Linked DNA regions of Homo sapiens: regions 1, 2 and 3 are each linked to region 4. Evidence: promoter capture Hi-C in 16 types of primary human blood cells and fetal thymus (Javierre and others, 2016). All regions are on one chromosome and are shown on one strand. Each heading gives the region's core, a stretch centred on a gene start or on the middle of the fragment in contact. The rest is flanking DNA. Distances are from core to core; before and after follow the strand shown. Region 1 overlaps GPR84-AS1 (GPR84, ZNF385A, ITGA5 and GTSF1 antisense RNA 1). Region 2 overlaps GTSF1 (gametocyte specific factor 1). Region 3 overlaps GPR84-AS1 (GPR84, ZNF385A, ITGA5 and GTSF1 antisense RNA 1). Region 4 holds the start of SCAT2 (S-phase cancer associated transcript 2).

Region 1 (3,481 bases), core at 482-2,981, 190 kb after region 4:
TTTTTTTTTTTTGAGACGGAGTTTCACTCTGTTGTCCAGGCTGGAGTGCAGCTCACTGCAACCTCTACCTCCTGGGTTCAAGCAATTCTCATGTCTCAGCCTCCTGAGTAGCTGGGATTACAGGCACCCACCACCACGCCTGGATAATTTTTGTGTATTTTTCGTAGAGACGGGGCTTCACCGTGTTGGTCAGGCTGGTCTTGAACTCCTGACCTCAGGTGATCCACTTGCCTCGGCCTCCCAAAGTGCTGGGATTACAGGTGTGAGCCACCGTGCCCGGCCTGATTAGCAGTTTCTTTTTTGAGGCAGGATCTCACTCTCTCACCCAGGCTGGAGTGCAGTAGTAAGATCTCGGTTTACTGAAACCTCCGTTTCCTGAGCTCAGGCAATCCTTCCATTTCAGCCTCTTGAGTAGCTGGGACTGCAGGCGCATGCCACCATACCCCAGCTAATTTTTGTATTTTTAGTGGAGACAGGGTTTCACTATGTTGCCCAGGTTGGTCTCCAACTCCTGGGCTCAAGCAATTTGCCCACCTTGGCCTCCCAAAGTGCTGGTATTACAGGTGTGAGCCACCACGACTGGCCTCCCTTAGCAGTCTTTAGGAATCATTTCTGGAAGTCCAGTCTAGAGTTTGTTTCTTCAGCCTTCCCCAGAATTCTGTGATCCATCCATTTGATGCCCTAGTAATAAGTCCTTTACTGCTTAATCTAGCTAGAATCGATTCTGTTCTCTGCAACCAAACCCTGATTAATATGGAGAACAGGGTATATATTTTAAAAAATAAACATAAACATTTTCATAGCTGAAAGAGTTAAGGAAAGAGTAGAGTTAATTTAAAGAGAAGAGGGTTGGGTATGGTGGCTCACACCTGTAATCCCAACACTCTGGGAGGCTGAGATGGGAGGATCACGTGAGGCCAGGAGTTTGAGACCAGCCTGGGCAACATAGTGAGATCCCATCTCTACCAAAAAAAAAAAAGAAAAAAAAAAAAGAAAGAAAGACCAGTCATGGAAGGTGGGAAGATTGCTTGAGCCCAGGAGTTTGAGGTTGCAATGAAGTATGATAGCACCCCTACACTCCAGCCTGGGTGACAGAGTGTGGCCCTATCTCAAAGAAAAAAAAGCTAAAGAGGAGAGAGGAATTGACTTATGGAAGATATTGGAGGATAGGAGAAGCTCAGTGTAGTAGACTGCCTTCAAGACAGCCCCCCATTGATTCTTGCCTCCTGGCATTCATGTTCCTGTAAAGTCCCCTCCCACAATGAAAAGGGCTCACCAGTGTAACCAAAAGCATATTGTGAAATGATGTAGCGTGACTTCTGAAGTTAGGTCATAAAATAATTTACAGCTTCCACCTTGCTCTTAAATTGCCCACCATGGGGGAAGTCAGTTGACATGTTGTAAGGATACTCGCAGGCTTTGTAGAGTCCCGCATGGGGAGCAACTGAGGCCTTGAATTGCCAGGCATGTAAGTGAGCCACTTAAGAAGCAAATCGTCCCACCTCAGTCAAGTCTTCAGAAATGGCAGCCCTGGCTGACTCTTTCTGTTTTTTTTTAGACAGAGTCTCGCTCTGTCGCCCAGGCTGGAGTGCAGTGGTACGATCTCAGCTCACTGCAACCTCCACCTCCTGGGTTCAAGCAATTCTTCTGCCTCAGCCTCCCAAGTGGCTGGGATTACAGGTGCATGCCACTATCCCTGGCCAGTTTTTGTATTTTTAGTAGAGACAGGGTCTCACCATGTTGGCCAGGCTAGTCTCAAACTCCTGACCTCAAGTGATCTGCCCACTTTGGCCTCCCAAAGTGCTGGGATGCGCGATTACAGGTGTGAGCCACTGTGCCCAGCCCTGGCTGACTCTTGACTGCATCTACATGAAAGACCCCAAACCAGGATTACTCAGCTAAGTAACTCCCAAATTCCTTATCCACAGACATTATGAGAGTAATGTTTATTATTGTTTTAATACACTATGTTTTGGGGAAATTGGTTATGTAGCAATAGATAATACAATGTGATGCAGTACAAAGTTCACAGACAAAGTTAGCCTTGTAGAGGAAGTATACTTTTTTTTTTTTTTGAGACAGTCTTGCTCTGTTGCCCAGGCTGCAGTGCAGTGGCACCATCTTGGCTCACTGCAACCTCTGCCTTCCAGGTTCAAGCGATTCTCCTGCCTCAACCTCCCAAATAGCTGGGATTACAGGCATGCACCACCACGCCTAGCTAATTTTTTGTATTTTTAGTAGAGATGGGGGTCTCACTATGTTGGCCAGGCTGGTCTCGAACTCCTGACCTCAAGTGATCCGCCTGCCTTGGCCTCCCAAAGTGCTAGGATTACAGTCGTGAGCAACCGTGCCCAGCCAGAAGTATACTGAGATAAAGGAAAAAGAGGTGCTATAAGAGTTAAAGAGTAAGTTAAGGTCAATGACCAGTACCTTCTCAAGGAAATCAAGACCAGGTGTGGTGGCTCATGCCTGTAATCCCAGTACTTTGGGAGGCTGAGGTTGAGGATCATTTGAGGTCAGGAGTTTGAGACTAGCCTGGGCAATATACTAAGACCACATCTCTAAAAATTCTTTTTAAAAAGTAGCTGAGTATGGTGGCACACACCTGTAGCTCTAGCTACTTGGGAGGATGGCTTGAGCCCAGGAGTTCAAAAAAGTTGGAGGTAAAGTCAATGTCATCTCCTGATAGTGGAGGATGGAAAGTAGGGACTACGAAGTTGAGAATAGTAAAAGGGCTGCAACGGCCACCAGGTAAATCTGAAAGTCAAACAGGAATGAGTGCCCGAGTTTAGAAATCTGTATCTGCAGTGGAGTTAGGTGGCATAGTTATATGATTTTCTGTAACTATGCTTGATAACCTAGCAGGAATAGAGTAAAAGATGGTGGGCTTCTCTCAACTTGGGAATTGGTAAAGCAGAGACAGAACAATAGCGGGGGTTAAGGATGCTGGTTTAGGCTACTGAAGTACTGGATCATGGAGTCTAAACTGGCAGATGTGGAAATGAGTTCAGGAGGAAACTCATAGCCTGAGAGAATGAGAAGTTGAGTGTAGAATCAATATTTAGGGAAGAATCGTATAAAAGCAGTAAATTAGAAATCTGAAGTCCCAGGTTATGGTCATAGCTCACTACTAACAAGCTGTGCAAGGATCAAATTTTCAGGGCCTGTTTTTTTTTCCCTCCTGGGTTAAAATACATAAAATGCTAAGTAAGAACAGTAACTTGCCTATAGTAAGAACTTTGCAACTCTTTTAACAATTATTCTTAAGTGTTTTAAAATTATATAGTATTTAATACACACTTGTGAAGCATAATAAACACCAACAAACTCACCATCCAACTTACCAACAGACTACTACTAATATCCTGTGTTTCTTCCTGGTCCCCTCATCCTGGCCTCTTCCCTAGGGATTACCACTATATTGAACTTTGTGTTTATCGTTCTATTTCCTTTTAAAAAACTGTCATGTTTCACACTTGTA
Region 2 (3,634 bases), core at 795-3,294, 200 kb after region 4:
AAGAAATTTATTAGGAAAAAAAAGATATGTCATAAATGAAACTCGGAAAAGTAAAAATAATATGAAGTAGGGAGAAGTCTGGAAAAATATATAGGTGTGAGAAACTTGCAGGCATCGCCGTCATTTTCATAAGTGGTATCAGGCATTCAATACAAAGGTTTTGTGGCCAAAGATTAAGAACATTAGAAGAAGGGAATTATGATAGTGTCTTTTTTACCACTTGACTCCATTTGGGAAATGTTTGAGAGCCTAGAGGGGACAATGTTGTAGTGGTATCTGCTGATCCATACTGTCCAGGTTTAATGTTAAGGGATCCTTGCTCTCGAGATTAAAAGGAGCTGGAGAAATAACAAAGATACATGATGTTTCCAGGATTACAAGCACTTTTTAAAGGATGTTAAAGCTGAATTGTATGCAGTTTGGATTAAATACCTCAATTGTTTCCCAAGCATAAATTCTAGCAGAATTTTGGCTTCTGTATCAGAATTCTAACAACATTGTCAAAATGTCTCATTTAAGGTAGCATGAAAGTAGTTTATATCAGCTAAGTCTATACAAGAGTGACCAGAAAAAAAATCGTTATTTATTATTTTTTTAAAGATGTTTACTGTTGAAACTTGGAGATACAGTTATTTTTAGGAATAATTTTTCTTGGGCTAACTTCTAGCTGTTCAAGCTCTAAAATTTCTAAACAAAATAATCAGAAAAAGTGAGTTATAGCACTCAATCATTGTTAGGCTCATGAATACATCAAATTTAGAAGATAGGCAGGATTTCTCATTGTTAGCCAAAATTAGTCTGTTTTACAAAGGGTGAGAAGACTCTAGAGATGCTGTTTATAAAGGGTTCTTTGTCACTAGTTAATGGGAAGAAAACCAAAACAAGAAAAAATTTATCCTAAGGAATGAACAAATGCCTTTCTATAAATGTTGGTATTTAAGAGAGGTAGATTCCCAAAACAATTCTGGCAATCAATTAAAACATGATAAAATTATTTGATATTTATAAAATATGGCCTTTTAAAAGAACTCAGGAGGGTGTTAGAGGGCAAATTATGACCCTACCTTTCTGCACTTGATAAGATGATAAGGAAACCTGCAAGCCCTGATTTGATGGTTTTTGTCATAGGGGCATTGCAATAGCTTCTCAGGGTCCAGGGAGTCGGCTGAAAGACAGAAGTGTTTCAGTAGGTAAAACGATAATAGGCCCTTGTAAAACTACAGCATTCCAGGCACACTGGATTTTTTCAAGAGACTCTGTAATAATAGAACAATATAGTCTAAAGAAAACTTGGATTAAAAAAAAAGGGTGACTACACTTTTAAAATATTTCTGAATCTTAGTAAGTTCAGCAGAACCAGAAATCTCAGGGTGAAGTCTCAGTTTCATATTGAACTGAACATATTGTTTTTGTTGCTGGTTACTCTTATTATAAAACAAAAAGTTAAATAAAATGTCATCCTCTTTTCCTTTTCTAAAAGTGCTAATTCAGGGTTATTCCTATTCTCTAGCTAGTCTATCCAGAGCCTCCCAACCAGTATGCTGCAGTTGAAATGGATTTCTAGTGTGCTAATACACTGATTTGGGGGCCCACAACTAGTTCAAGTCATCCCCTACCCCCCATTTCCACAGGCAAGTTGGGGGTAGTAATAGCAAGTAATAGTAATACTTGCTATTACTAGTATCTAGATGAAGATACTAGTAATAGCATCTTCATCTATTACTAGTATCCTGTGACATGAAAAAAGTTGGTAAGCACTGCCCTATATCAGTTATATGTTTTATGGAAGCTTGAAAAATATTAGTGGATAGATTTCTTTTTCATCTGTCTACTTTAACTTACTCCTATAAGTAGTTCCTAATCTTGGTTACTCTAATTACCTCTCAAATGAAACCAATACTGTTATCAGACAGGTAGTTTTTACTTTTCATATTTTGGAACACATGTGAGAACAAAACAGAGAATTCTTTAATCTAGTGACTACTACATTAGCCAGCTAAAAAAATAGGAACAATGTGCAAAAACAGAACCTTCTGAGGTTAAGACAACTGCAGACATATGGAACTGCTGTGTGAAAGAAAGCCCCTAACCTATAAAATGCTATTTAAAACAACCCTTAGGCTATACAAGATGACCAGGCTGTGCCCCAAATTTTAACAAGCCTGGTTAAGGAAGGGAAATTAAATGGTTAAGCACATTCTGGTATATTATGAAGACAAGAGGCAACCTAATAAATTGCTCTTGCCACCCCTGAAGGCAATGATAAAAGTGAAATAAGATAAACAATTCACATTTGATAAGAAGCTTATAAACCAGGAGACTGCTAGGAAAATCAGAAGCCAGTGGGGAATTGAAACAGACAGTTTCACTGGAAGAGTGGTAAACATGGAATAAATTGCCAACCATGATCGTGATGCAAATGAGCCAGAAAGGTGACTTGAAGGACAGAATGAATAGGAAGGAAAAGTCTTAAAGGACAGGCAGGCTTATTATGCTAACCAGGCTCTTCTTGACCAGCAATGTTTCATATTTCCGAAGCTTCAGGACAACCAGGGAGAATTTACAGATGAAATTCTTGTTAGTTTCCCCTGATTTAATCCATTCCCATCACTAGCAAATGTTAGGCCATGTCAGCAGCTGATAGACTGGATGGTACCTTATGATTCATATATATTATACTGCCCATATAGTAGCATATGTCAGAGTTGATAATGAGAGCTTCTCATTGTAATGCTTTACTTCCTGGTCTCCAGCACTTTAGGTCAACTTTAACCTGGCTTTCTAGATTAAAAAAATTTTTTTGATTTAAAAATCTTTTTTTTTTTTTTTTTTTGACAGAGTCTTATTCTGTTGCCCAGGCTGGAGTGAAGTGGCGCGATCTCGGCCCACTGCAACCTTCACCTCCCGAGTTCGAGCGATTCTTGTGCCTCAGCCCCCGGAGTAGCTGGGACAAAAATCTTTAACTGTGATTAAAAACACATATAAAATTTACCATGTTAATGAATTTTAAGTATACAGTTCAGTAGTGTTAAGCATTAATATATTCCTTATTGTTGTGCAACTAGTCTCCAAAAGTTTTTTGTTTTACTAAACTGAAACTCTATACCCATTAACCATCAGCTCTCCATTCCCCACTGCCCCCAGCTCCTGGCAACCACCATTACTTTTTGTTTTGGTGAGTCTGACTAGATACATCATATATGTGAAATCACAGTCTTTTGCTTTTTGTGACTAGCCTATTTCACTTAGCCTAAGGTCCTCAAGGTTTATCCGTGTTATAACATGTGACAGAATTTCCTGTGTGTTTTTTTTGTTTTTTGTTTTTTTTTTTTGAGACGGAGTCTCACTGTTATCCAGGCTGGAGTGCAGTTGCACGATCTTGGCTCACTGCAACCTCCACCGCCTGGGTTCATGTGGTTCTCCTGCCTCAGACTCTTGAGTAGCTGGGATTACAGGCATCCACCACCAAGCTCAGCTAATTTTTGTATTTTTAGTAGAGACGGGGTTTCATCATGTTGGTCAGGTTGGTCTTGAACTCCTGACCTCAGGTGATCCACCTGCCTCGGCCTCCCCAAGTGCTGGGATTACAGGTGTGAGCCACCACATTCGGCCATTTCCTTTATCTTCTGTCTTG
Region 3 (3,339 bases), core at 599-3,098, 170 kb after region 4:
TTGCCCCCACCCCTTCTCCCCTCTAACAGTTCTTCTGCCCTAAAATGGCCACGTTTTGCCTTTCTTCCCTCCCCTACACCCAGGTTTGGGCCCCAGGGGTAGAGCTGGGGGTTGGATAAGGGTAAGACTGCACAGGGGCCAGATGGGCTGGTTTGGAGAAGGGTAATGAGATCCCAGGAAGAGAGAGGAACCGTGCCACATGACTCAGGTATGTATGGGGGGTGGAGGTGGAGGCACGGCTTCCTGGAGTTATTGTCTCTCCTATAATAATAATAGCTTATGCTTTATGCTATATAGTATGTGTTCTAAGAGCTTTATATGAATTAACTTATTTAATTGGCACTGCCCCTTTATCAGGGAGGTACTATTGACCTATTTTATAAGATGAGGAAACTGAGGCACAGACTTGCCCAAGGTAAGCAGAAGAGCTGGGATTCAAACCCAAGCAATCTAGCTTTACTTTAGGAAAGACCAGCCCACTACGTTTATCTTTGGAATGCTTGAGCCTCACTGGCAAAGGCAAAAGGAATGCCTTTATATGGGGTGGTCATGCTCACAGAAGCTGCTGGTCAAGTGTACCCCACTTTGGACCTAGGTGTTGGATTCAGACTAAACACTTTCAAAGAAAGCCATTGACCCATTCTTCTTTTTCTTTTTAAACTAATTGTTTGTAGGAACGGGGTCTCACTATGTTTGCCCAGGCTGGTCTCGAACTCCTCGGCTCAAGTGATCCTCCTGCCTTGGCCTCCTAAAGTGTTGGGATTACAGGAATGAGCCACTGCACTCAGCAACAAATTCATTTTTTAAAAACAAATCTAGGCAGGGCGTGGTGGCTCACGCCTGTAATCCCAGCACTTTTGGAGGCCAAGGCGGGCGGATTGCCTGATATCAGGAGTTTGAGACCAGCCTGGGCGACATGGTGAAACCTCGTCTCTACTAAAATACAAAAAATTAGCTGGGCATGGTGGCACATGCCTGTAATCCCAGCCGCTTAAGGAGGCTGAGGCACAAGAATTGCTTGAACCTGGGAGGGAGAGGTTGCCGTGAGCCAAGATCATGCCACTGCACTCTAGCCTGGGCGAAAGAGTAAGACTCTGTCTCAAAAAAACAAAACAAAAAACAAAAAAACCCCAAATCTATTGATCTATTGTTGAATGATATGCAAGTGACATACAGGTTAGCATAGAAGCCATCTAAGTGTGACTGGAGGTGGAGGAAGGGAGGAATGCAAGAAGGGGCAGAAATAAGAATTAGAGAAGACCCAGGAAAATATGGAAGAAGCCAGTAAGCCTGTATGTAGAAGGACTTCCTTGAGCGTTTCTCCAGCTTTTGCTCATGTTTTAGGCAGTTAAAAATAGTGATTTATTCTACTCACTGAGAGAGAGAAAGGAAGAAGGGGATGAGAATTCTTTTACCCTTGAAAGCACACAGGGACTCCCTGGGCTGGATCCAGGTACTTGACTTGGAAGTTCCAACTAGAGCAAGTCTGCCCTTCTTTGGCTCCCAATTTTGTCTTTCCTAAATCAAAGGAATTGGGCTAGGTGATCCTTGAGGTTCCATCTTACCCCAACACATTCAGATTCTCATACAGGAACTCAGGGGAAAACCAGGGTTGCGGCTGGAGTCCTTGTGTGGGGGCCAGGAATAAACAAATAATTGGTAACCAGGATGAGCTCAGTGATCTAGGGGAAAGGCTCTGTAGGGGGTGATGGGAAGGAAGCCAGGAAAGGAGAGACCAGACCCCAGAAAACTGAATGGAGCATGGACTCATTCATTCATGCAACCATGTACCTTCAGAAACTAAAACCTAGGGGCCGGGCGCGGTGGTTCACACCTGTAATCCCAGCACTTTGGGAGGCTGAGGCGGGTGGATCACGAGGTCAGGAGTACAAGACCAGCCTGGCCAACATGGTGAAACCCCGTCTCTACTAAAAATACAAAAATCAGCTGGGTGTGGTGGCGCGCGCCTGTAATCCCAGCTACTCGGGAGCCTGAGGCAGAGAATCACTTGAACCCAGGAGGCACAGGTTGCAGTGAGCCGAGATTGCACCACTGCATTCCAGCCTGGGTGACAGAGCGAGACTCCGTCTCAAAAAAAAAAAAGAAGAAGAAGAAAAAAAAAGAAACTAAAACCTAGGAATCTGAGCTTCCCATTCAACAAGGTTATAATGAGCCCATGGGCTCTGGATGTCTAGGAAGGGCAAACTCCCAGGTCCCTCCCCAATTTTTGAGGTATTACAGGAAAAAACAGCTAATAGTTATCAAGTACCAGGTATAGATCTAAGCATTTTACATATGCGACCTCATTTAACCTCAAAATAATACTATGAAGCAGCATTTTATATCTTTCAAATTGATTTCTTCATTTAATCCTCCTCAACTGCCCTCTAAAGTTAACAAGGGCATTTGACTGATGAGGAATCTTTGAAAGTGGGAAAAGATGAAACTAGATTTCTAGTAGAATTTTCTAAGTGGTAATGGTGGGAGCCCCTGCAAGGAGTTAGAGGATTCTCACTTCCTAGCAAGATCTTTTCTGACTCTAGGCTTCCAGATTGTGGGGGGTGGAGTGTGCTTTCCAGATCTTGATGAATGGCAGATAAAGATATGCATCAAGTTACTGATCAGGAGCAAGAAAATGGCACTCTGGTGTCTTTGAGAATGTTTCTAAGAAGTCTCTAGAGATAGAAACAATCACAGGATTGAGGATTACCTTAAATCTGCAAAGAGACCTTGACAGGCCAGAGGCAGAATTCTGAGTGAGTTAGCTCCCCTTTGTTTCTACCAACTGCTGGTCAGCAGCAGGAGAGAAGGAAATTAGATATATGGAGGGATTTATCTATTGTTTGGGGCTGATAGGAGAATCCTGCCTCCTGTGGGTAATAGTGAAGTTAATTCTTCTATCACTGTAATCAGCAGGAGTTAGAGGTGTGAGTGGTAGTGTTAGTGGAGAGGGGGGATGGTAGTGAGGATGGGCTTGCCTGGAAGACCTCTGACCAGCTAGAAGAGCCTGAGATTTTGAGGGGGAGGAGATAATTTGCCAGACGGGTACTTGCGGAGAGGGTCCAAGTGTTTGGGCTCCAGCCTGGGGTGAAGTCAGAGACATAAATCACACCTTCCAACTGCCTGTTTCCGCTTTGAGCTCAGTTCCCAGCCAAAAGCCCAGCTAGCCTGCCAGAGGAGTAAGCGTGTGGATGGGGGAGGGGCCAAAGAGCTGGAAGCTGGTGATTGGGAATGGGCGTCATCAGCTGGGAATCTGGTCTCATCAGGGTCATGAAATGGACTCAATGCCAGGGCTGGTAGAGCAGGGAGCCCAAGGATCTCAACAGAACTGCTCTGTAG
Region 4 (3,460 bases), core at 402-2,901:
GTGGATTACCTGAGGTCAGGAGTTCGAGACCAGCCTGACCAACATGGTGACGCCCCATCTCTACTAAAAATGCAAAAATTAGCCAGACATAGTAGCACTTGCCTGTAATCCCAGCTACTTGGGAGGCTAAGGCAGGAGAATCGCTTGAACCTGGGAGGCAGAGGTTGCAGTGAGCCGAGACTGCGCCACTGCACTCCAGCCTGAGCAACAAGAGCGAAACCGTCTCAAAAAAAAAAAAAAAAGAACTCAGTTGAGAAGAAGCACAATGGTGACTATTACGACTGTCAAACAGAAGAAACCATAGGGTGTAAGACCAAAGTAGAAATTTTTTTCTTTTTTCTTTTTTTTTTTTGAGACGGAGTCTCGCTCTGTCACCAGGCTAGAGTGCTGTGGCGCCATCTCGGCTTACTGCAACCTCCAACTCCCTGGTTCAAGGGATTCTCCTGCCTCAGCCTCCCAAGTAGCTGGGATTACAGGCATGTGCCACCACGCCCAGCTAATTTTTGTATTTTTAGCAGAGATGGGGTTTCATCATGTTGGCCAGGATGGTCTCGATTTCCTCATCTTGTGATCCGCCCACCTGGGCCTCCCAAAGTGCTGGGATTACAGGCATGAGACACTGCACCCGGCCAGAAATTTTTTAATTACAAAAGATTTCCTCAGATTTGAATGGACCATCAGCAAACCTCCAATTAAAAACGGCATTTTTCAACTCTTACCTTTTAACTTTTCATAATTAAGGGATATAAAAACAATAACAAACATTTAAATAGGATCCTGACTCTGATTAACTTGCCATGTGTTATCCTGAGTAAATAAATTTTCCATCTAACCCCGGCATCATTTAAACGGGCTAAATAAATCTGTACTACCTGCCCTACGTACCTCCGAGGGAAAAAGTGAGTTTATGTTGAAACCAAAGATCTATTAAGTCCCCCAAAAAGAACCTTCTGTAAAAATATGTCAGGGCTGAATACAACAGCAGAAGAAAATATGTGACCTTCCAAATTCCTAAGCTAGTAAACCATATCACATGCAGTAACTCCTGCAGCTCAACACATTAGTAGATAGCAAGAAAAAGAGGAACAGTGTCTTTGTTAACTAGGCACTGGAAAACGAATAAACCTTCAGAGAACAGGGTAGGTACGTTCTCTCTCAAGGGCAAAATACTTATTCCTTAAAACTCAGACAAACTTTAAAGATGGCAGAATGAAAAGACTAATAGTAACTCTGTGAAGGAATAAGGAACAGGAGAGAATGACAGCAATACTAACATTTTGGTGAAACCTTTCAGAGAAAGAAAAGTGAATTTAATGAGGAAAGAGACAAAAATATTCTGGTGTCCACCCCTCCCCACAAAACATCAGAAAATAAAGATTGAGTTCAATTCCCTCCTTTCCACCCTTAAGAACTGCCTAAAGGGCACATGGGCCGAGGTCCTTTTCTTTTTGGGAAATGGGTTTTGTAACCACTGACAAATCGAATTGGGCCTGATGCCAGGAGTCAGAGTACAACCATAATATTCTTTAAAGGATGGCATGCAATTGTCTTGTAAATCTCCTAGACAGTCACAGATCAGAAGCTGGCAAGGATGACGACATAGTTCTGATGGAATGTGTCTTATCTTAACCTTGAAGTTACAGATCTGCTCAGGAGCAGCAGTAAGAAATGAGAAATGCACTCAGACATCGGAGGGGACATAATTCTCTTTTAGACAGTGTGACCCGGAGTATTAGGGTCAAATGAAACACAAAGCCAGTCAAACAATTTAAGGGCTAGAGCCTAGACCAGATAAAGCATCAAGACTGGTGGTTCACACTGAGCTTAGGAGGAGGGAGCTTTCCAGCATGAGAAATGAGACATGGCTGGCAGGATGATGGAGTGATTAAGATAGAATCCCAATACCATGACAGAGGAAAAGAAGATGAGCCTCTGAACACAACCTTATCCTTGTGGAAATCTCCAAGGGAAAGGGTGAGTAGCTTCTCAAATTTCTGGAGTCTTTCAGGCATAACAGCTCTCAGCCTTCTCTCTTAAATATACATAGGAACTATCTGGTAAAGCTACCAATAACTATAGATTACAGCACCTAAGGCCCATTGAGATGAGAAAAGAGGCTGGGCGCGGTGGCTCACGCCTGTAATCCCAGCACTTTGGTAGGCCGAGGCGGGCAGATCTCCTGAGGTCAGGAGTTCCAGACCAACCTGGCCAACATGGTGAAACCCTGTCTCTACTAAAAATACAAAAATTAGCCAGGTGTGGTGGCAGGCACCTGTTATCTCAGCTACTTGGGAGGCTGAGGCAGGAGAATCACTTGAACCCAGAAGATGGAGGTTGCAGTGAGCCGAGATCAAGCCATTGCACTCCAGCCTGGACAACAAGGGCAAAACTCCGTCTCAAAAAAAAACCAAACAAAAAACTTATCAGTCCTCAGCAATTACAGAGAGGGCATCACAAGCAAGCTAGGGCAACCCAGAAAAACAAGAGGTAGGCCGGCACAGCGGCTCTCGCCTGTAATCCCAGCACTTTGGGAAGCCAAGGCAGGTGGATCATGAGGTCAGGAGTTTGAGACCAGCCTGGCCAACATGGTGAAACCCCGTCTCTACTAAAGACACAAAAAAATTAGTCAGGCGTGGTGTAATCCCAGCTACTCGGGAGGCTGAGGCAGTTACGCACCTGTAATCCCAGCTACTCAGGAGGGTGAGGCAGGAGAATCGCTTAAACGGGAGGCGGAGGTTGCAGTGAGCTGAGATCGCGCCACTGCACTCCAGCCTGGGCAACAGGGTAAGACTCTATCTCAAAAAAAAAAAAAAAAAAAAAGAAAAGAAAAAAGAAAAAAAAAGGCCAGGCGCAGTGGCTCACGAGGTCAGGAGATTGAGACCATCCTGGCTAACATGGTGAAACCCTGTCTCTACTAAAAATACAAAAAATTAGCCAGATGTGGTGGCGGGAGCCTGTAGTCCCAGCTACTGGGGAGGCTGAGGCAAAAGAATGGTGTGAACCCAGGAGGCGGGGCTTGCAGTGAGCCGAGATCGCACCACTGCACTCCAGCCTGGGAGACAGCGTGAGACTCCGTCTCAAATAAAAAAGAGGTAATGGTTAGCCCTCAGCATTGACCGTTTAATGCTGGAAGAACCCACATAGGGTCCCTGGTATCTGTCTGCTTTGTCCAGTTCAGGTTCTACTCTCATCCCTCCAGTCATTTCTTTTTTGAGACAGGGCCTCGTTCTGTTGTTCAGGCTGCAGTGCAGTGGTGCGGACAGTTTATTGCAGTCTCAAACTCCTGGGCTCAAGCAATCCTCTCACCTTGGCCTTCTGAGCAGCTGGGACCACAGGGGCACGCCACCATGCCTGGCTACATTTTTTTATTTTTTGGTGAGATGCAGTCTCACTGTGTTGCCCAAGCTGGTCTCAAACTTCTGGGCTGAAGCAATCCTCCTGCCTTACCCCCACAAAGCAG

What was found. The method cuts DNA at HindIII sites, captures the fragments that hold promoters and counts their contacts. A CHiCAGO score of 5 or more calls a contact.
Region 1: a fragment that was not itself captured here is called in contact with the fragment with the promoter of SCAT2 in region 4 in 2 of 17 cell types (neutrophils and monocytes); the score reaches 7.4 in neutrophils.
Region 2: a contact is called between a fragment that was not itself captured here and the fragment with the promoter of SCAT2 in region 4, in 1 of 17 cell types (monocytes). The highest score is 6.0, in monocytes.
Region 3: a contact is called between a fragment that was not itself captured here and the fragment with the promoter of SCAT2 in region 4, in 1 of 17 cell types (neutrophils). The highest score is 5.1, in neutrophils.

The regions. Positions count from the first base shown.
Region 1 is chr12:54,447,206-54,450,686 of GRCh38, forward strand. All of the region lies in intron 3 of GPR84-AS1 (GPR84, ZNF385A, ITGA5 and GTSF1 antisense RNA 1), which reads left to right. Among named protein-coding and RNA genes, the nearest start is that of GTSF1, 25 kb to the right of the region's middle. RefSeq lists a silencer at 1,236-1,436. The HindIII fragment of the contact is 3,557 bases long and covers 1-3,481 here.
Region 2 is chr12:54,464,003-54,467,636 of GRCh38, forward strand. GTSF1 (gametocyte specific factor 1) reads right to left here. Exons shown (of 9, transcript NM_144594.3): 3 at 1,065-1,165. GPR84-AS1 (GPR84, ZNF385A, ITGA5 and GTSF1 antisense RNA 1) reads left to right here. Exons shown (of 4, transcript NR_120487.1): 4 at 2,839-3,028. Among named protein-coding and RNA genes, the nearest start is that of GTSF1, 7.8 kb to the right of the region's middle. The HindIII fragment of the contact is 515 bases long and covers 1,788-2,302 here.
Region 3 is chr12:54,429,217-54,432,555 of GRCh38, forward strand. All of the region lies in intron 3 of GPR84-AS1 (GPR84, ZNF385A, ITGA5 and GTSF1 antisense RNA 1), which reads left to right. Among named protein-coding and RNA genes, the nearest start is that of ITGA5, 12 kb to the left of the region's middle. The HindIII fragment of the contact is 5,263 bases long and covers 1-3,339 here.
Region 4 is chr12:54,260,964-54,264,423 of GRCh38, forward strand. SCAT2 (S-phase cancer associated transcript 2) reads left to right here and starts at 1,652. Exons shown (of 2, transcript NR_157844.1): 1 at 1,652-1,974. All of the region lies in intron 1 of CBX5 (chromobox 5), which reads right to left. The HindIII fragment of the contact is 3,994 bases long and covers 1-3,460 here.